4 separate regions of the Homo sapiens genome follow, and all the other regions are linked to region 1. Evidence: promoter capture Hi-C in human tissues and cell types (Jung and others, 2019). All regions are on one chromosome and are shown on one strand. Each heading gives the region's core, a stretch centred on a gene start or on the middle of the fragment in contact. The rest is flanking DNA. Distances are from core to core; before and after follow the strand shown.

What was found. The method cuts DNA at HindIII sites, captures the fragments that hold promoters and counts their contacts. A contact is called where the count stands out against the background at its distance.
Region 2: a contact is called between a fragment that was not itself captured here and the fragment with the promoter of ZIC1 in region 1, in 2 of the 25 tissues and cell types used here (pancreas and psoas muscle).
Region 3: a fragment that was not itself captured here is called in contact with the fragment with the promoter of ZIC1 in region 1 in 2 of the 25 tissues and cell types used here (IMR-90 fibroblasts and mesenchymal stem cells).
Region 4: a contact is called between a fragment that was not itself captured here and the fragment with the promoter of ZIC1 in region 1, in 2 of the 25 tissues and cell types used here (dorsolateral prefrontal cortex and hippocampus).

Annotation. Positions count from the first base shown.
Region 1 is chr3:147,407,022-147,412,249 of GRCh38, reverse strand. It overlaps ZIC1 (Zic family zinc finger 1), which reads right to left and starts at 2,885. Exons shown (of 3, transcript NM_003412.4): 1 at 1,156-2,885. The coding sequence starts at 2,137. RefSeq lists enhancers at 1-72, 2,698-3,278, 3,701-4,891. The HindIII fragment of the contact is 11,475 bases long and covers 1-5,228 here.
Region 2 is chr3:146,652,838-146,658,065 of GRCh38, reverse strand. No RefSeq gene overlaps it. Among named protein-coding and RNA genes, the nearest start is that of PLSCR5, 50 kb to the right of the region's middle. The HindIII fragment of the contact is 4,052 bases long and covers 620-4,671 here.
Region 3 is chr3:146,763,558-146,768,785 of GRCh38, reverse strand. No RefSeq gene overlaps it. Among named protein-coding and RNA genes, the nearest start is that of LINC02010, 160 kb to the left of the region's middle. The HindIII fragment of the contact is 7,948 bases long and covers 1-5,228 here.
Region 4 is chr3:148,007,476-148,012,703 of GRCh38, reverse strand. No RefSeq gene overlaps it. Among named protein-coding and RNA genes, the nearest start is that of LINC02032, 68 kb to the left of the region's middle. The HindIII fragment of the contact is 3,711 bases long and covers 163-3,873 here.

The sequences.
Region 1 (5,228 bases), core at 1,636-4,135:
GCATCAGATCTGGAAACTCGTATTACCCAGAGCTACACACGATTTCGGATTGCTTCCACCTGGCTCCTGGTTTCTAGTTTTCACGTTTGCGGCTTATTCTCCTGCCCTATTGCTTTTCTCTCCTCCCCCTGCCCCCTCCCCGACGCTCCGCATCCCCTGGTCGCCTCCTCCAACCCACCCCACTCCCTACATACACTCACATTTTATAGCGTAATCTGGGCCGGAGAGAACTCAACGCCGCAAATTCTTCCCTGACTCGGGCGTTAAACCCGAAGTCTCAAGCATGGTTCTCAGATCTCACCCGGGAAAATCAGAATAGGAAAGGAGACCCAGTTCCCGGCCTCTTGGGGGCAGGGGGCCCAGAATGTTTTGTCTGATGCCAGGCTACAACCCTGAGCTCGTGGGAACTTTTTTTTTTTTTAACTGTTCCGGACCTGTGTCTTGATTATTTTTAAAGGCCAAAGAGGGGAATCTGGTGTTTTGAAAACACCCTCATGGAGTCTAATAGACAACAAGTTCTTCCTTGCCTTCCTCGGACTTTCTCCACCCCTCAAACCCACTCTTAAAACCAGTCACTACTAAAACTGAACTCTTCAAATATGCATAAAGCTCCAAAAGCCTCCTCAATCCCAAATTATTTCCTTTCCCCACTCTGTCTCAATTCTTTCTGTCTCTGTTTTGTTTCTTTCTACGCCCTTAACCCGGCCTCCTCAATTTCCTCAGCTCTTTCCTTTGGCAAAGTCCTCAGTGAAGTGCACGGAGAGAGATGTTGGCAGCAAGCAAGGGTTTAGATTTGTCTGCAGCCTGAGCAGCTGGCGCCTCCGCGGCTGCCGGGAGCCAGCCACTTTCTCCGGCTTCGAAAGCACCAAGGTCTCCGCCAAACCAGGTTTGGCTTCCTGTTCTCCGACCTTTTTTGTTTCTCATTTAAAAAATCTATATACCCAGCTCCTCCTCGTCCGCCCTGTGTGTGTGTGTGTGTTTTCCATAATTTCAAGCCAGAAACTAAAAATCAGCGCACACTTTCCCTGCCTGCCTGCCGGAACCTGACGCCCGGGATCCCACCGAGGCTGCGTTTGTGCGACCTGGCCGCTGACTTTCGGTTTGGGTCCCAGGCCCAAGTGGGAATGGGTAGGGGTCCTACAGCTGTTTCCGTACCTGTGTGCGTCCTTTTGTGGATCTTTAAATTCTCGGAGCGCGCGAAGACCTTGCCACAGCCAGGGAAGGGGCAGGGAAAGGGCTTCTCGCCCGTGTGCACGCGGATGTGGTTAACCAGTTTGTATTTGGCTTTGAAGGGCTTGCCCTCGCGCGGACACTCCTCCCAGAAGCAGATGTGATTACTCTGCTCCGGGCCACCTACGTGCTCCACGGTGACGTGCGTAACTAGCTCGTGCATGGTGCTGAAAGTTTTGTTGCACGACTTTTTGGGGTTGGCCAGCTGCTCGGGCTCGATCCACTTGCAGATGAGCTCTTGCTTGATGGGTTGGCGCATGTAGCGGAAGAAGGCGCCGGCGCCGTGATGCGCGGCCATGTTCACGTTCATGGGCCCGTAGCCGTGCAGCTGCGGCGCAGCATAGTGCTCCGAACGCGGGCTGGTCACCTGGCCGTACTGCTCCGGTCGCGGGTACATGTCCCCCGAGAAGCCGAGCCTCATCTGCCCGTTGACCACGTTAGGCGACGCGTGGCCGGCAGCCTGCTCGTGAAGCCCGGGGAAGAGGAGGTGGCCCGCGGCGTCCGTGTGGCCGTGTGGGCCCCCGAAGCCCCCGGCCGATGCAGCAAAGAGGCTGTGCTGTGCGCTGGCTGCCGCCGCCGCGTCGCCAAAACCCCGGTTGCGGAACAGAAAGTCCCGCGTGGAGTTGAAGGCTGCGCTGGAATAGGAGCCGACGTGGCCCGGGTGATGGTGATGGCCCAGGGCCGCAGCAGCCGCGTAGCCTGGCGCCTGCGACGTGAAGGCCGTCTGGCCGGCCGAAGCCAGCTCGTGCGAACTGGGGTTGAGCTTGAAGGCGCCCATGCCGTCGGCGAACGGGTTGATGCCCAGGCCCACGTCTCGTTCGGCCACGTCGCCCGCGGAGTGGTGGCGGGACGCGCCAAAGGTGGTCACGCCGATCGCTGGGTACTGGGGGCCGGCGTCCAGGAGCATCGTGGCTGCTCGGGGCGAGCCCCGGCCTCCCCCGCCCCCCCCACCCTCGCCAGCCGAGGAGGGAAAATCGGGAGGAGGAGGAGGAACAAGAGGAGGAGGAAGAGGAGGAAGAAGAGGAGGAGGGAGGGGGAGTCGACCCACCTCGCGAAGTCCTAGCCTGCAGGCAATGGCGCGGCGCGCCCGGGCGCTGGCCGGGCCAAACGCAAAGTAGCCGGACGGCTGCGGGCCGCGAGTAACGCAGGCTCCAGCGCCCGCCAGGCAGATTCTGCCGGCCCGGCTCGCACTTTCTCGCCGCTCAGTCTCTGCCGAGAGGGCCGCGCGTCAAGGCTGCCCGGGGAAAGGCATGGAGCATCTCAGCCCCCTAAAAAAAAACTTCCTCCTGGATTTGTAGCATAGAGGAATGTGAGCGCCAGTGCCGCGACTGCTTCGCCCTCTCTCCGCCTCGCGCAGCGCGCCCCTCCTTACTTCTCCACTAGCCCCTCGCCCTTTCTTTTCTCTCTCTCTCCTTTCTCTCACGCTCGCCTCCTCGCTCCTTCACTCTCCGTTTTTCCCTCTCTGCTTTTTGAAAAAAAAAAAAAAAAAAGTGGGTGGGGGGGTGAAGAAAGAAAGAAAAAGCCAAAGAAAAGGCGCAAATCATGCACAATATTGTCTTTTGCGGTTTATCTTCCTGGGGAGAAACTTTCACCTCCTCAGCCGGGCGGTGAGCGCGAGACTGATAGCAGCAATCATTCCTGCAGATAAATGAATTGAAAGGACGACACCGTCCCCCCCTTGATGAATGGGAGCAGGGGGGAGGTGTCACGTGCTGCCGACGCTGGCGCCCATTGGTGCGCCCGCATTCCCCCCGCCCTCAGCCGCCGCGCCAACGGAGGGCGCGCCGAGGCGCCGCGCGCAGCTCATTGGCCCGCCCGCCTCATCAATCCCAGGTATTGTAAAGCGCTTGACATCCCCTTTTGACAAACCAGGGCTGCCAGGAGTAGCAACTTTTTTTTTAGCCAAATTTTTTCCCTCTTCTCACGGAAATTTTTTTTCTTTTTTCTTTTCTTTCTTTCTTTTTTTTTTTTTTTTTTTTTTTTTGCCACGATTACTTTTCCTTCTCACAGTCATATGCATTCCTCTTCCTCCTTTGCCCTCCCGCACCCCGGCGCTGCCCTTCCCGAAACCAACTTTTCGCTGAGCGATTAGAGACTTCAGACGTCTCCGGGTGCAGCAGGCGGGGATGGGGCTAGTAAACACAGCAAAGGCACTTCCAGAATGTCCCGATTCAGCAACTTTCTTTTCTTTCTTCCCCCTTCCCCCCTCCCTTCAAGAGCAGCAAAAGAGGCTTTTGTTATTTGCTCCTTTTGAAGTTTGTTTCCCTCTTGCTTTGTCCCCCTCCTGTTTATAATTTAAGATCTTGGGAGCACACGGGCACTATGCTCTCTTTACAAAAAAATGTAATTTCTCAGTGTAACCGGCAGCCTCTGTATTTCTCGCTTTTATCTAATCAGACTTCCGGCACCACCGCACCCCCCTCCCCGAAAACACACACACACACACACTCACACACACAGGTGGATGAAAGCGCTTAAGTTCCCAGGTTATTGAGGTTTGAATTTTTTAATGGCAAATTTGAAACGTTGTTGCCAGTTTCCTTTACTTTTTCTCTCTCTTGCGTTATTTTTCTGTTTTCTGCCTTTCCGTTGTCTCCTTCGACTGCCCCCGCTAACCCTGTCTCTCCTCACTCCTGTTCCCTACTTGGGCCCCTTTCATTCAGGTAAAACTGTAAATTTCCCAACGCGCTATTGTTCCCTTGGGCTGCCCAAAGCTCCCTAGAGATCCCCGAATACTTTTTCGGTATTTAAATCCCCAATAGATAGGACCAATGTAAATTTTGTGACATTCAAACCTTTTCTAGTTCACAAATCAGTCACCCTTGTCACAGTTATTGAAATTCCGCAACTCGCCACACCAGGACGGTGGAAAAAGCGGGCGCGGTCTTTGTTGCCGACCAGGCTTTTGATCGCCAGAGAAAATTTACTTACCTTCAGATGAGTGAGCAGAAAAAGAAATAACACTCCCTTTGATTTAGTTAGGAAAATGCAGACATTTGGATTCAGTGCAAACATACAACACTCGCTTGTTTTCGCGATGCGGCCCTCGATTAACCTGTCTTTGCCTAGCGCAAAGTCTATTCAACAACTGCGCGTAGTTTCTTTTTGTCCCTTCCACAAAGAGCCATTGACTATATATTAAAATGATTGTTGAAAGGTAGGGGAGTATGGTACTTAAAAGCAGGAAAAAAAAATCCCTGTGACTCAATCAATTAAGCCGAGCAACATTTATGCATTTCAAAAAATGCACGCGGATGCGGGGGGTTGTGGGGACGAAGGTTGCATTTCTCCGCAGCTCTGTTTAAAACCCAGCAGTCCTGGCCGAGGCTTTAGCTGAAGCGTCTGCATATTCATTAGGTCTAATTATTTTCTAGTAAGGAAAACACAAAAAGCCAAGAGTCGGAATCCTTCAATTTACCCTTTGTTTCTAACTTCATTTGGCTTCTTTGCAGCTGAATCAAAGCCCTAAACTCTTTTTCCAAACAAAGAAACCTCAACTCATCCTTTCATAGGCGGCCCGGTTAGGAAACTCACCGTGCCCCAGCGAGAGGAAAATGAAAATGAATATATTTTTTGCCCTGACGCCAGCGCTGACTGCACGGGCTGGAGGAAGGCAGGGTCAGCGTCCGCCGCTCCTCGCCTTTCTGGTTTTCTGGTCTTCTCACCAACTAGATTCTCGCTTGGGGCTGGCCGGCGGGACTGCCCTTTCCATGGGCTGTGCTTGCTCAAAAGTCGGCTTGGGTATCCGGGATGATTTCCCGGTGCCTGAAGGGACCTGGCTGAGCATTTGTGCTTGTGCCGGGAAATATAAATTCGGAAAAAAAATTAATTGTTCTGTTCCCATCAACAAGTCTGAGTCTAGCAGCCCAGCATTTCCCACCAACTTTGAGTGGAATGGAATGAGGAGTGGAGGTAAAGAAAGGGCCGAGGTATCTTTAAAAATTATTGTACACTTGGTTGGAAAAAAAAAAGATATATCGGAGGCACTAAGTCTTTTT
Region 2 (5,228 bases), core at 1,396-3,895, 750 kb after region 1:
AGTAGGAGTAGCAGTCCCAGAAGGCTACAATACTGGGAACCCTGCAGCTTCCTTGGCTCCAACCAGCACTGTGCCAATGCTTGCCTCAGAACAGACAGTAAGAAATGTTCGTGAGATCTTTTTGGATATGGAGACACAATATCTGAGGTTCCCTGGGTAGGACATAGTCTCTCAATTCTCATGCCCCCAAAATGATGCCCTGCTGCAGCTGCTCGAGTCTGAAAGGAGGGTGAGCAACCTGGCAAGGGTCCACAGTCAGGTGTAATACCCTCAAGAAATCCCCAAGTCACCACTCACACTAGAGTCCAGGAATGCAAGGGCAGAGAGGCTCCCCCACAGTTTGGGTACCAGCAGTCTGCAGTAGAGATGAGGGCAACCAAAATACTCCCACTTACCCTTTCCGTGCAATACCAACTCCCTTGAGGCTCCTAGGTGATCTTTGCCAGTAGAGTTGCTCTCTTGCCTCCTCTTTTATTCTGTGCTGCAGTTTTTTCCCATGATTTCTCTGTGGAGTTCTAGTATTTTCTCTTTAATATTCTATTTGAGTTAATAATTATCTGTCATTTTGACTACTTTTGAGGAGAACTAGCATCCTTGTCTTTAGCCAGCCATCTTGAACCAAGTACAAACTGCACTCTTTTTATTAAAGAGTCTCCTTTCCAAAATTTTATATGCTTCGTGTCTCTCCCTAAAAATCTGGTCCTTCAACGATGCTAACAATAAATGTACATGCTTCTGAAGAGAATTAGAATAAAATAATTTTTTCTGATCTCCATTATTCTTCACACTTTACCAACTAACTTCTCCTTATCATTCATATATTAGCTTACTATTATTCCCTTAGGAAAGTTTTCCAAATCTCACCTCCACCCAAAAGCATGTGTGAGGTTCAGTGTTCTCTAAGCACCCTGCACTTCCGCTTGCTGACGTTTATCAAAATTATAGTTAAATAATTATTTCTATAATTTGTTTCTTTCATGTATATATCCTTTGCTAGAGTATAAACTCTGCAAGAAAGTTCTACATCCATCATGTTTATCATGTTTCCTAAACCTATAAATTGATTAATGTCAATGAGTTAATGAATTGATTACTAATGTATTAGTAATCAATGAATTAATATCTGGCATCCAGGAAGTACAGATAAATAACCTATTTTTATTAATATATAACTACTTAACTAATATACAAGTAAAATTATAGTTAATAGTATTAAAATTACAACTAAAATGTATTGTTAAGCTGATAGGCTTATTTTCTTTTATATTCGACAAAATCTTAGACGCCTCATATGAAAGTCTATGCATAAGGATGAAAAATGTAGATTGTTGTTATTTTTATTTTTAATGGTAGATATACATAACATAATATTTATCATCTTAACTTTTTTCAGTTATTTTTAAATGTACAACTAAACATTGACTATAGTCATTTGGTTGTGTGATCAAATAGTATCACAATGGTATGTGTTATTCATTCTTTCTATTTTTTTTTTATACCCATTAACCATCCCCATATTTCCTCTGCCATCCCCTCAACTTGCCTTCCCAGGAAAAATTTAAACATATGCAATTATCACCATAGAATTCTCTTGTGGATTTTATTTTCATTAATGACTGTGAACTTTTTATTTCTACAAATTACCACATAATTCTTATACACAAAAGGGCCAAAACGCAGTAAATAGGTAATCAACTCAATTTTCAGTGTGTTGCTATTGAGAATAGCAATGAGGTAAAAGAATTCCTCTTTGGACTTAAGCTTTGGAGTTAGAATTGTGTTCAAGTTTATGCTTAAACACCTACTGGTTGTTTAGGAAAAGTCGCTTAGTTTTTCTAACTTCTACTTTTCTCATGAAATATTGAGAGTATTTACCACACACATTGTTGTGATAAATATCAACTAAGTAAATGAACAAAATTTTACCACAATATTTAGCATAAACTGACATTTATGGTTACCTATTTTTATTTTAAAAACTACTTATAAATCAATGCTAACTAAAATTTCCAGACTAAGCTATTTTGCAGTAATGAATAAATAATGTCTTTGTTTTATTGTAAAGGAAAAATCATATTTACAAATTTAACTAAATATTTTAAGTACATTTTGGTTTAGGTTTATACAAAGACCTATTTTACATAACCCTGGTGGTACAAAAGAAGATAAATTTTTAAAGAAAACACAACTCGGTTAGTTGCAGCTCTAACATGGAAAGAAAAACAAATAAAAAAATATGAATCAGGAATACATGCAATAGTACTTAACAGGAACATGTTGTAACTACTTTAATAATCTTTTTGAAATAGTAACAGCAAAATATCAGCTTTATGTGCTCAACATCAAGGACAAACACATCTTCTACGATTTGAAAACATTGTACTGTGCATACTGGAATGAAAATGCTGCTGAACATATTCCAATAGTCTTATGGACAATGTGGAATGTTGTATCCTGAGAAAGTAGAAAACTTCTCATGAGAATGTTTGAAATGTCACTCCGGTTCATTTTAGATCAGAGTGCAGGTGGCTCTACAAAGCATTTGCTGGAGGCTTTGTGTTTATACAGTTGTTGCTTCCAGGATGGTATTGATTGGTTAGGCAACTAATAAAACAAGCAGTGCTGCTTTCATCTGTGTGCATTTTGGGGCTTCTAAAAGATAGAAAAGTGTTTTTAATTAGGACATGTTCCCTTCACTTATTTTACTTTTTGCTTCTTTCCTTTTTTTTTTTTTTCTTACAGTATCTTCTCGCATTTCGGAATCTCTCTCCCTGGTCATGATTCCAAACCCCTAGATGCTTTAGAAGGCAAATGATCCTGAGGGAGATATTCCTACTCAAATCTCAAGACAGACAAAAACCCTTAACATCAGCAAAACCAACATGCTCTTTATTGTTTCCATTTCATACATTTTGATTGAAAGTTATGTATTTTACTTATATTTTGAGGCTATCTGGATCAAAGTTTCTCACTTAAACATAAACTAAATTTACAGCGGAATCTATGAAAAATACTCTTATGTTCTACTATTTATATGACAGCTCCTGAATACATGAAAACACATTGTATACTAAATCACTGCATATCTAGGCAGTCATTTTATATATATACACAAATATATATTTTATATAAATAAAAATTATACATAATTCAGAATTACTTAAATATATACATTTGTATTTTTGCTTTTTTCTTTTTTTAGGTTCTTTCATTAATTTATATTTTCATAATTTTCTTATACTATTCTAATGTTGTTTTTTATCTCCATTTTCTATCTTCTTTCAAACTGTCCAAAATATATATCTTTGATTTTATAAAGGATATACAAGGAAGATTAAACACAATGTTTAAAAATTTAGAGACTATAAATAGAACTTATCAGGTAATTGTGGAAAATGTGCTATGGGGGGAAAAGTGACTTCAAGGAAACTTTTGAAAATGGAAAAACATAGCAAGGATTAAAATTTGACCACATAAATTAGCATATAAACTGGGAATTAAAGCGTTTCTAAGGAGGAACATAAAATGTGAAAGTGCTAGTATCAATTAAATAATGGTAATCAAATAGCTAAGAAAATGATTTTCATTGATATCGTACCTTTTAGCTCAAATAAGACAATTCTTTCATTTATTATTCATTTAACGTGCTTAAATAATCTAAAGAAAAAGGCAAGAAGAATTCATTTTGATAGACCTTATGCTGTATTTTTGAAATATAAAAGCTGAGTACTTAAAACAGTTTCTTAAAATGTAATTTAATTAATTTGAATGAACACACATGTAAAAGAAATTATACATAATCAAAATCCTGGAGAAGAAAGGCAGTATAGTATACCATAGTGCTTCTCACCAGGTGGTCCCTGAACCAGTGGCATCAGCAACACTCGGAAACTGGTTAGAAATGCAAATTCTCAGGCACCACCCCCGACCTAGTGCATCAGAAACTCTGGGTTTGAGACACACCAATTTGTATTTTAACAAGCTCTCCAGGTGATTCTGGTGCACTCTGTAGTTTGAGAATCATTAGGAAACTGGTTAATAGTACTTACTCCGGAGCCAGACTGGCAGTTCAAGCTTAACTTTGCTACCAGTTAGCTGAATGACTTTAGTCAAGATACTTTAACTTATTGTTCTATAAAATGGGGCAAAATAGTACTGTCCCATAATATTGTGGGGATTAAATGAATTAATATGTGGAAAAAACCTAGGCCATTTTTTGATACAGAGAAAAGACTCTGTAAATATTAGAAATTGTTGTTATGAATATGAGGTGAGGCCAAGTTCCACTGAAATGAGTGACTTGGTCAAGGTTATACAACTAGTCTCACTTAAGGAATTAACCCACAGTTTTCCCCCACTCATAAGCAGTGTCCGTTTCACATCCATGGAATTCTTGAAAATAGCCACATTTTCTCTAAATGACCAAGTAGTAGACTAATAACATATACATACAGTAATTTTATAATATATATTTCTTGGTCTGAATCTTTATTTTGCATTTTTAATGGTGAGTACTGAAAAGGCCATCAACACCCTTTTCACGAAGCTTTTCATCTCTCTTTTTTTTAACATAGTGATAACCACCAATTACTTTTATTTCATAATCAGTATAACAGGCATGTGCCAGAAATTGCAGAAAGTTTATTGGATGGAAGATAATAAGATCAACATTTACTGTAATAGCAAATAGAAAACTATAGCTTCTAATTTACATCAGCAGGAAAAGAATCAGGTGTCTCTTATAGAATACATTATGCAATTTGGGGAAAGAAAACAAGGAAAACATAAAAACAAGCTTGCATTAATATAGTATTAGGTGCTTTCACAAATAAATCTAAAATTAAGCAATAGCTAAATTGCAATAGACGTGTACTCCTAAATCATGTAGTCATCCCCTGCCGGAGTTCCTGAACCACTGGCAGATTTTCTCCATGGGTGAATTAGGCAAAAAAAAAGTCTCCCTCTATCCTGTGGCTCCAGTATCTTGAAAGGCCTTGTTGTAATCTTCACTCTTTTGGCAAAAGTGGAAAAGAACACGAAGTAGGCACATCCATTGTTAAAAGCCACCACTCAGAACAGACACATCATTAATCCTCTCACATTCCCTCATCCAGGACAGTCATCTGGCCACACCTAACCACAGGGAAGCTGGGAATATGGGTGGGCTCTGTGCTCACTACAACTAACCACACACAAGACATTCACTTATCTGATGCTGAATGTAGTGT
Region 3 (5,228 bases), core at 2,042-4,541, 640 kb after region 1:
ATTATGCTGAAAAATATTCATTCCTGTAGTTTGAACGATTATAGCAATTTCCACCAGGGGATTTCGCAGTTAGATTCTAGTTCTGGGCAACAGTGATTAATATAATGGTTATTAATGAGAAGTCATTTTGATACTTCTAGCAGTGTTTAGGTGTCAATGCCTTGAAAGAAACATGTTTAGCATATTAATAATAAAGACTGTGTTGGACTGGATACTAAGAAACCTATTGGTTTGCTTTTCTTGTCTTGCATAACATGAAAGGTCAATTAGACATATAGAAACAATGGAACATTTCGCAGCAGGGCCTAACATTTCACTGCACTTTTAACCTTTTAGCCATGTATAAAGTTCATTAAATACCCGAAGATAGGACTGTTACAGGAAGACAGTGGTGGGGTCAGAGGTCACAGTGAAAAGCAAGACGACAATCTCTCCTGGATGGCATCCTGACAGCTAAGTTAGAGGGAGAATTACCTTTCTGGTTGCCAACAGGGAACAAGGAGAATGAAGCTATCAGCAATTAACATTATTGGATTAATTAAAATGAATGTTGACAGAGATTTTATTGGCTTTACATCAAATTGAATATAGGTAAGATAATCCCTTATCAAATTTCATAAATGTAAAAGCGTAGATTAAATGATTACACAATCCATATATTTTGGGTAACACATATAAATATATATACACATGTGCACACTTGCAGTGTGCAAATATGTGTGTCCATCTAAATGTACCCAAATCCACTGACCCAGAGTTAAAAAGTTAGAAATTATTCTCCCACTTTACCATTCCCTTTTCTAGAATTTTGTCACAAATATAATTTTTTCATTTATTTGAAGCCTACTGTTTGGAGCCATGTAATGTATCGATACAGTATATGGATACTGTGTGATATCACAGGGTTTGTGTCAGAGAAAAGAATAACACTGTTGTTATAAAAGATCTACATTGTGAGGAGAAAGTTTAACTTCACATTACTATGGGTACAGAAGTATGATTACATCAAAAGCTCAAATCAGCACCTAGAATTTATTTTGAATGTTTTATTTGAAATACTTATGTCAAAAAGATTATTGTAATAGAATAATAAAATTGAAAAAATAACGTTTAAATGTTTCCTTTAATTTGTTGATGATGTAAAATGTAAGTAGAATGCTAAAAATTAGTGTATAATATAATTTCATGAAGAATTCTTTATAGTTTTCATAAAATTAATAGTCTCAATTGAATTTTTTTAGACTGAGACAATTCTATACATCATTTTATTGTGCTTTTATTTTACTACTTGCTTATATGTCATAATGGATAGAAATAAAAATATTTTTATTTAAGCATATACAAAACTTGGATTCTTGTTTATGTTTTCTAGTGCGATGAAGGCAGCAATAATGTTAACTATGTTGGAAAATTTTGATTAGCCTAAAGTTCTTAACTTTCTTTTCTTTTTGAAGTTTGATATTTCAGTCTAGGTCTGAGATGGAGTTGAGTGTGATCATTCTTTGATTTCACTATGAGTGCTGAGTTCCTAATGCGGTGTTAGGAATGTGTAGACTTTAAAGCTTGTTTTCTTTTTCATCATCTCCCTTTGGACTTGCATATATGATTTCTACAGTAATATGCATCATTTTCTGACATAAGGTTGCTGAAAAATACAAGCATAAATACAATTCTTTACTTCTGTGATTCTTTAGGAACAGAGAAATAAAACTAAAAAATAATTATGGTATGAATGTAAGTCAGCAGTTTATCATACAGGTACAATAACAGTGTGGAAATACATTAAAAAATACATGCCTCATCTAAAACATGAGGTAGTAAAAATGAAAAATTTAATTTAACATAAATAACAGTTTAAAGGTTATGATTATTTCTGGTGAGAGCAAGTAGCACTAAAAATCCTATTTTCCCTATTTTATTATATGAAAATATAACTGTATTTTCAGGCTTAAAAAAAAGTTAACTCTAACCTAAGCAGCAGTTGTACAGCCATTTCAAATGGTGGTGCAGCATTTTTTAATTTCTCGGAAAATCTTTTGGGAGCAATATAATATAGTTCTATGAAAAATTAATCAATGAAATTATTATGACTGTAATCTCATAATTTCATTGTCCTTCTCCTTTCAGTTTTTACTTATTCTCTTTAAAATTCAAATGCCCCTAAAAAGCATATCATACATAATAATGACTGAAAATAGTTGCAAAATAAAAATTGAGTAGGAGAGACATTTCAAGGTTTCTTTTATGAGAATGCTACGTTAACCATGTGACATACACATGCTAAAAACAATTGTGGAAAAAAATGACTAATATTTGTGTAGCACTTGACAGTTTACACAATAATATCAAATATTCTCATTTGACCTTCAAAAGGATTTTTAAACTCGTGTTTCACAAATGAGGAAAATGAGATTCAGTAATACAAATCAGAGCTGTTACATCTCCTTATGATCATGTCACCCAATAAAGCAGAGGCATTTGTTTTCTTGAGAAGAGATGAAGAAGGCAAAATTTATTAAAATTATGAGTCTTTTTTGTAGTTTCAATTGTTTATTAATGTTTTGTTTGTCAAAATTGTTGCCCTTATTTTCAGTATACTTTCTGTATTTGCCTATTACAGCAGTTATCACATTTATTATTTCTCATTTATCTCTGTGCCTGCTAGAACTGCACACTCAGAAGAGAAAGGACTACGCTTCTCTGAGCTTCTTGCAGAGTGACAGGCTTATTTTGACATTTAGAAACTATCTGTTGACTGTTTGTGACATTTTCATTTAAGTTACATTTTAGGTCACTTGATACTAATTTTCTATTTAGTATTAGGTTTTGGAGAGCTATTTTTCTTATTACAGTGTTTTGAAGTATATTTAAGGATATACTTATCCTGAAGTGAAGAAGAAAACCAGTGAGGCACTTTTCAATGTTACATCATTTTAGTTATGATTGCTCCTTTTTCACGTTACTTGCATTTTCCGTAAGATCACCTTGCTGTTTTTAAAACAGATAAATATCTATTGTAATTTAGGAAATATACTGCTTTAGTTTCAGAAAGTGGGTAATAGTGTCATTGATGTGGGTAATAATATCATAATGAATCATATCTAATTTTGGAAATACCCCACAAATCACTTCAATATCTGCATATTTTAAAATAATATGCATTATACTCTTTGTTCACTTTCCTTTCTGTATTACTGTTTCTTTCCTTCTTTCTCTTATTTTTTTCTTTCAGTAAATACTGAGCCTCTACAATGTACTCATTCTTCTAGAAATCTAAAATCTGGCCAAGAGTAAGCGTTGTCCTCATGAGCTTACATTCTAATGCAAATATCCAGTAAGAACACACTTTTATGGAAGTGTTGTAAATACACAAATCTAAAAACAAAGAGCCAAGAATTCCAAACAGCTGTTTTTCTTGATAAGACTCTAGAATTAATAATATGTATAATTGTAACTGAACTCATCTGTGATAGTGTCCATTTAATTCATCAATTGCCACAGAAGACCAATTGTTCAAGCAAAATAAATAAAAGTTCCTTATATTGTTCTCCAATTGAAAATATATATGACATTAATATGTATTTATTTGAGGTTTTCTTTTAAATTTTTGTACACCTAACACTTTAGCACGTGCAAATTTCATAAGAAAAACCCACCTGTAAAATGCTGGTTATTGGAATAATTCTCAACACAATATTGCCAATGTCAAAGTTGAGTGTGTATTATAACAGTAAGTAGATGATGAATCAGAAAGATTCTGACTGGGGATTTCAAAACATTCTATATGGTAACATGGCGATTACATACAGATTCATGGATCTATTTCTATCTTCTTTAAATCCATATTTCAATTAATTGTCCCAATGCCCTCAGAGAAGGGAAAGTTATGTACAAATAACCCCAGTCTAAAAAAGGCTGTGACCTGAATGATAGTGGAAAGTGCACAAGATTCCAATGGAGTGAACATGGCAGTTGTTTCTCCTTTATATGTTATAAAGAGAACTAGGGGTCAAATTGCATAAATGATAAATGGAAGGTGCTTGAATTGGGTTGGTTCTTTTATGAACATTATACATTGACCCTGGCAGCTTTGACAATTACATCCATCATTTCTAGGAATCTGTTCCAACACTCAGCCTGCTCTCTAATGTGACCAAATAACCAGTTTGTGAATATAGGAATCAAAGATTGATCTTCTGTGCCACTGCACTGATTAAGTTTGTTACTTACTGGAGCTTTTCCATTACATGGAATTAGGTAAGGATCATAATTCATTATGGCACACCTATAGATAGATGTTAGAATGCTTTAATCTTCACTTACTAGGCTTCAAAAGGATTAATATTAGACTTGTAACTTTGATAAGCAAAATGAAACAAAACTTTTAAGAAACCCATTGCGTACTTTTAATGTTGTTTTATTACTTCCATGTTTCTTGAATAGAAAGAGCTGGTTGAAGATGGAAATAGACCAGACCATTTTAATTTTTACACTATTGTGACCTGACAATAACTTAGGCACCAAATTTCAGGTTTAAAAGAATTTTTCTGTCCCAAATATCTTTTGTGTGAATAGAAATATATGTAGATTGAGGAGCAGGTCTTCTAATCACCAAAATCATTACATGCAACATTGTTTGCTGTCATAATATTCTTCCCAGAAAGTCTATCAACTGCATGAAAGTACCTCAAAGGCTGGAGAGATAGTCAGAATGTATTTGAAGTCCTGAAAAGCAACTTAAGATTTTTGACTTTAGGTGATGTTGTATATTAAATGGCAGAGGGTCTAGTCTCAGAATTCAGAGACCTGAATTTGAACTCTGGCTTCACCATTTACCTTGGCATTATTATGTATTCTTTCCACCATTTTTGTTTTTTCTACCAATGGATATACAAACTATGATATTTATCTTTTAAGAAAAAACCACAAATGTACTTGAATCCTTGGCACTGAAATACTTTAAGTACCACCCCAATAAATATTACATTTATCTATGATTTATATAACACATTGCTTTATGTATATCACACAATATTCACACAGAAATTAAGGTAAACCAAATGAAACAAATCAATGTCAATTATTTTATTTCTATTTACTAATGAACAACATACAATTTTTTTAATGAAACTTGCATTAGCCCTAATTATATATTTTCTTAGGAGCAGGTTAGTTAGACATGGTTCATGATTTCAAAAATATTTTAATATTTGTGAATAAACAAATTT
Region 4 (5,228 bases), core at 769-3,268, 600 kb before region 1:
TATATAAGTACCCGTCAGCCTCTTTACAACTGTATCAATAGGTTAGAGGATAGTTAAAAATGTTAATGAAGCTTAGATATTATAATTAGATGTACATTATCACTGAGAAGGCGACTTAGAGTCTCTCTGGTGTTAGATATAAAAACTGGTGATTTTTGTCAGCTCTCTGGTGATTTGGCCAAAATGGTCTTGCTCTTTCAGATTCCATTCCTTTGCCAGAGGTAGACAAAATTATTATAAATATGCACAAAGCTTATAAAAATGCAAAGGAGAAAAACCACTCAAACACTTAAAAAAGGACATAAACAAGAAACCAAGGCAGCTGGTAAAGCAAAATGGAAATTTTGCTGATGCAGATCCTCGGTTTTCTTTCAATTATAGTTCATTTTGCAGCCTTAAGTCTGTGGTTGTTAAATGCTTTCCTGCTGCCAATCTGAAATGGAGGTGGACAATCCAGTAAACTAATTCCCAAATTACTCCAAATGTGAATCAAATTAGAATAAAACATTTTTGGAAACTGAAAGAGGAAAAGTGAAGGGTTATACTGAAATATATAGTTTTCATTTTTATGGAACTCTATTTTTCTAATTCCTACTGGGGGTAGATGTGTTGAAATTCTAAAAGAAAGTGTGTTCTTATGACACATTGTTGACATAATTTTCCAAGCCAAAATGCAACTTTGGAAGATGTCAAAATCATACAGCCTCTTAAAAAACTCCCAGTCTCCATCTTTTATGACAACATGCAACTGGTTTTAAGTATTACTTACTGTTGGTTATAATGTTACAAACTTTGAGAAGTTAAATATTTAGAATTTAAGTTCACTAAAGTGCAATAACCATACCCTTTCAAAAGAAAAGTAGGAAAAGCAGATAAATCTATGTTCATTTATTCCTGTGTGGTTTTTATATTTAATTTTTTGCCTCCCTTAATCCATTGTTATAAGCAGTAAAATGAGACAAAACAAAAAATAGTGCATCTAAAATATAAAGACTTCAAAAGACATTCTAGGAAATAAATTTTACAGTTGGAAGGAGGCTTACTGATTAGTAAGTCAAATTTATTTATTTTATCAGTGAGACAACTGAAGTACCAAAAGGTAAATACTTAGTCAAGTTCAGCTAAATTGTCAATGACATAGTCAGGGTAAGAAGTGGATTTTAGATTTCCCAGACCAGGGAGATTCTTGGTAACCTTAATCAATATTATTAATTTTTATTGTATGTCCTATACAGTCTAGAACATTTCAAGTTAGTAGTTTATTCTATTGTCCTCTTTTTGTTTATTGATTATTTTAATGGTGATAAAAATTCCATCAATGAAGCTGATTTTCAACATTTATGATATTTAAAAACATACTTTTAAGTTAAGGCAAGTTGATTCTTTTTCAATTTATCTTACTATTTTTCCTAAAATGCATTTATTTATTGACCTTTCATGGGATTTGATAATGACACAACTTATTATTTATTGTCTGTGTTCTGCCTACTTCCAAAAAAAATCATAAGAAAATTGATGGCCTTAAAAACACATATCATGGAATGTAAAACCAGTAAGTTCCAAGAAACAACAGAAAGTCCAAGTACTAAAGATAAATATAAAAATAATTATACCAGAAGAAAATGCTTTATTTAAAGTTATTTGAGCAAAATATTAATTTGAGCTTCCTGAGAGCCAAGAAGAAACAAGAAATGTGATGGTTCATAGAGCTCTCATTTGACAAAAAGAGAGTATGTCTCATTTTATTTTGTCTTAGGAAAGTCAAATCTAAAACATACAAGTTTTACCAAAGTTTTTGTGATTTTACTTTTTCCTCTTATCTGTTTCTTTTTTTTTAGCATGACCCTCATAAAAATAATTAATCACATAAATATAAGAAAACGAATAACATAAGGCATGCCATCCTTTTATAGTCATTTTTGTTCATTTATATTTTAATATTTAATGTAGATATTTTGTTCATATTTTCTACATAGCTCCTAGATAAAAGTAATGGCATAATTTTAAATTTTCCTAAATTGTTGTATATCATTCTATAAAGGCAATTTTGTGGGGAGCCATGATACTAAGATGTAGGTTTGTAGCTTTCTGCTGCCATACAATAATGATTAAAGTGCATATAGCAAGGAATAATTATATTTTATAAAAAGGAATACAAAAGCATAAGTAAGTAAAATTCACTTAAAGTTTTCTCGTGAAGAAAAGACATTTTTCTGTCTAAGCGTATTATACAAACTTTTTGATTTTTAAAAGTAGAAAGAATCTTTTTCATTAAGAGCTGAATACTTGCAACTTTTTGTGTGTTAGCACATTTGTCAATTATAAATTGGAGAAACTAATTTTTACAATGTTTGTACAACTCAAAATGTTCACATAATTTTTTTCAAAAGTTTAAAAGCAATTATCATAATATAACAAAACAAAGGATTTTAAAGATAATATTTTAAATTGTTAAGCCAAAAAAAAGTTTATGCTTCCAGTATCTGTATTCTCCAGAAGCTACCAAGGTAACAATAAAGCTTCTTCCACTATCCTAAAACTTCATGTAAGTCTCTCACATGCTTTTGGAGGGTCAGCTCTTTATTTGGAGCAGAGCTAAAAGTTTTCATTCACACTACTTCTGCTAAGCATTGTCTGTTTTCTCTCCTTCCCTTTATTACCCAACTCCTGAAATGCAATCTCTTCACCACCTCAGCACTACCAGAACTACTCACCAGAGCATTTTTATACAAAGGTCTTTCCAGAATCCCAATCTTACACTTTGTTGAGTTCCTGAATTCCAAAGCAGTCTACCATAACTTTCTTGATATTTCACTTTCGTAACTATCTTCTCTCTCTTCTTGTTTTTCTTTTCTTAGACTGCTGCCTTCCCATTACGGAAGTTCACGTTTTTGTTCTTGATAACTACAATTTTAGCTTAGCAGTTTTATTAAATCATCCATTTTAATAGATTTTGCTTCTTTTTCTGATTATTTCTAAATGTAGAACACCATTTGTGACCCACTGGCTTTGTCTCTGTGCCTGTTCTCAGCAGCTTACAAAACAAGTCTATGTAAAGGAAGCTCATACTCAATGTATCCCTCAGATACTACTTTCCTTCCAAAAATGCTACTTTCCTTCCAAAACATACACTTGTTTCAGACAGCTTCATTTCAGCCAAAGGTACTGGCATTATCAATCTCTTAAAAATAGAAAGATCAACTCATTTTTTAAAATCTCTCATTTAAAACTAAATTTAATATTGACATCTATCCAAATATATCAGAAATAAGGAAATTCACACAATCTAATTTAAACCAAATCACCACAGTTGAGCACAGAACTTCCCAAATGTAATAAAGACTAGTTTACTAACTTCCAAGTTACTCCTTTATTTCATTTTATAGGAGTTATACTCATATTCCCATATAGGTTATTCAGAATTTTCTCTCTCCATACAATTTCAAAGTCTTCATTTTACCCTATTTTTCAGTGAATGATCTCAGATACCCCTATAGGAAGAAGATTAAAACATGGAACCATAAAAGAAACAATGACCTTGATTGTCTCAGGCACCCATCATGATTTATTGGTCAAAGACTGAATTTTGGTATCAGACTAAATTATATTTAAGTATTACCAGTTATGGAAGCTTAAACTTTCTTACTCCCAAGACGAGTGCATTTTCTGTTGTATTTCCCTTACTTGCAATATTGTATGTTTTTCCATATCTATTAGGAAATTTCTTTCCATATGTAATAAACTACCCAGCTAGGGAGTCTTAAACAAATAAGGGTTTGTTTTTGTTGTATAATAAGTCTGGAGAAGAGCAGTTACTGGCGCTGGTTGAGTGACATAGTGAAGTGACCCCCAGGCTTCAGATGTTCTCCTGGCAGTCTCCAGTTATCACATCTGCATTCCAACAAGAAGAAGCAAAAACAGTGGGTGGGGGTGCTGTCTCAGGAAAGCAACAGGCTTCCCAGGAATCACACAGCTGACTTTCACTTCCATGTCATCATTCAGAACTCTTCTGTGAAGTTTCTCCAACTGAAAGTTGTCTGGGAATGAAGATTAAGTCAACCAAACATACCCATATTGTTCTTTCTGTATATCTGAATATTACTGATTGTTCAAAGCTTACCTAAAATCTCACCTCCTCTATGAAAACTTCTTCAATGCAGCTGACCACACATATCTCTAATCTTTGTAGATTTTCATTTTAACTACAAAAGTCCCATACAATATACCACTAATATTTTTGTGCTCTAATAATTTTTTTATTATTTAAAAAATTTTTGGAGATAGTGTCATTCTGTTGCCCAGGTTGGAGTGCAATGGCATGATCTTGGCTCATTACAACCTCTCCCTCCCCAGTTCAAGTGATTCTCCTGCCTCAGCCTCTCGAGTATCTGGGACTACAGGTATGTGATGCCACGCTCGCCTAGTTTTTTTTGTTTTGTTTTGTTTTTGTTTGTTTTTTTTGTATTTTCAGTAGAGACGGGGTTTCAACATACTGGCCAAGCTGGTCTCCAACTCCTGACCTCAAATGATCTGCCCACCTCGGCCTCCCAAAGTGCTGAGATTACAGGTATGAGCCACAGTGCCCAGCCAATATTTCTCATTTAACGTTTTATTTTCTCAAAATTTAAATGTGTATTCAGGGTAGAGGCTGTGTTGTAATCCTTTTTTCTGTCTACACACAACAGGGCACTGTGCTAAGCACACAGTGGTGCTCCGTATGATTTGGGGAACTAGATTCAGGCAAATTCAAATCTGAAATCAGGAACCACTAATTTCTTATGGTGTAATTCTAAACAAGAAAATTTGCCTCTCTAAATTTTTCTTTCTCTATAAATGTGTAAGAAAATAAAAGAATACATCATGGGACAATAGGAGAACTCAATATATGCATGGAACATATATGCCTAATACACATTATTTTCCTTTATCAAAGTTTAATTATAATTGATAGGAAAAGTATTTACATATGCATTCTATAAAATATGATACGCAGAATTTGCATTTTCAGGCTCAAAAGACTCACAATTTTAAAAATTAATTTCTTTGGAATTCACTCTGTGAGAAAATTAAAAAACAAAAGCTTTGTTTTCCTTAAGAATAAAATGTATTTCAATTTCATTTAGCATTTAGTTCAAGACTACTAAATATTTATAGCTAATATTTTTTAATATTTGTAGTTTTTTGTTTGTTTCTTTTTTGCTACAATGAGCTCGAGGATTTTATCTGGA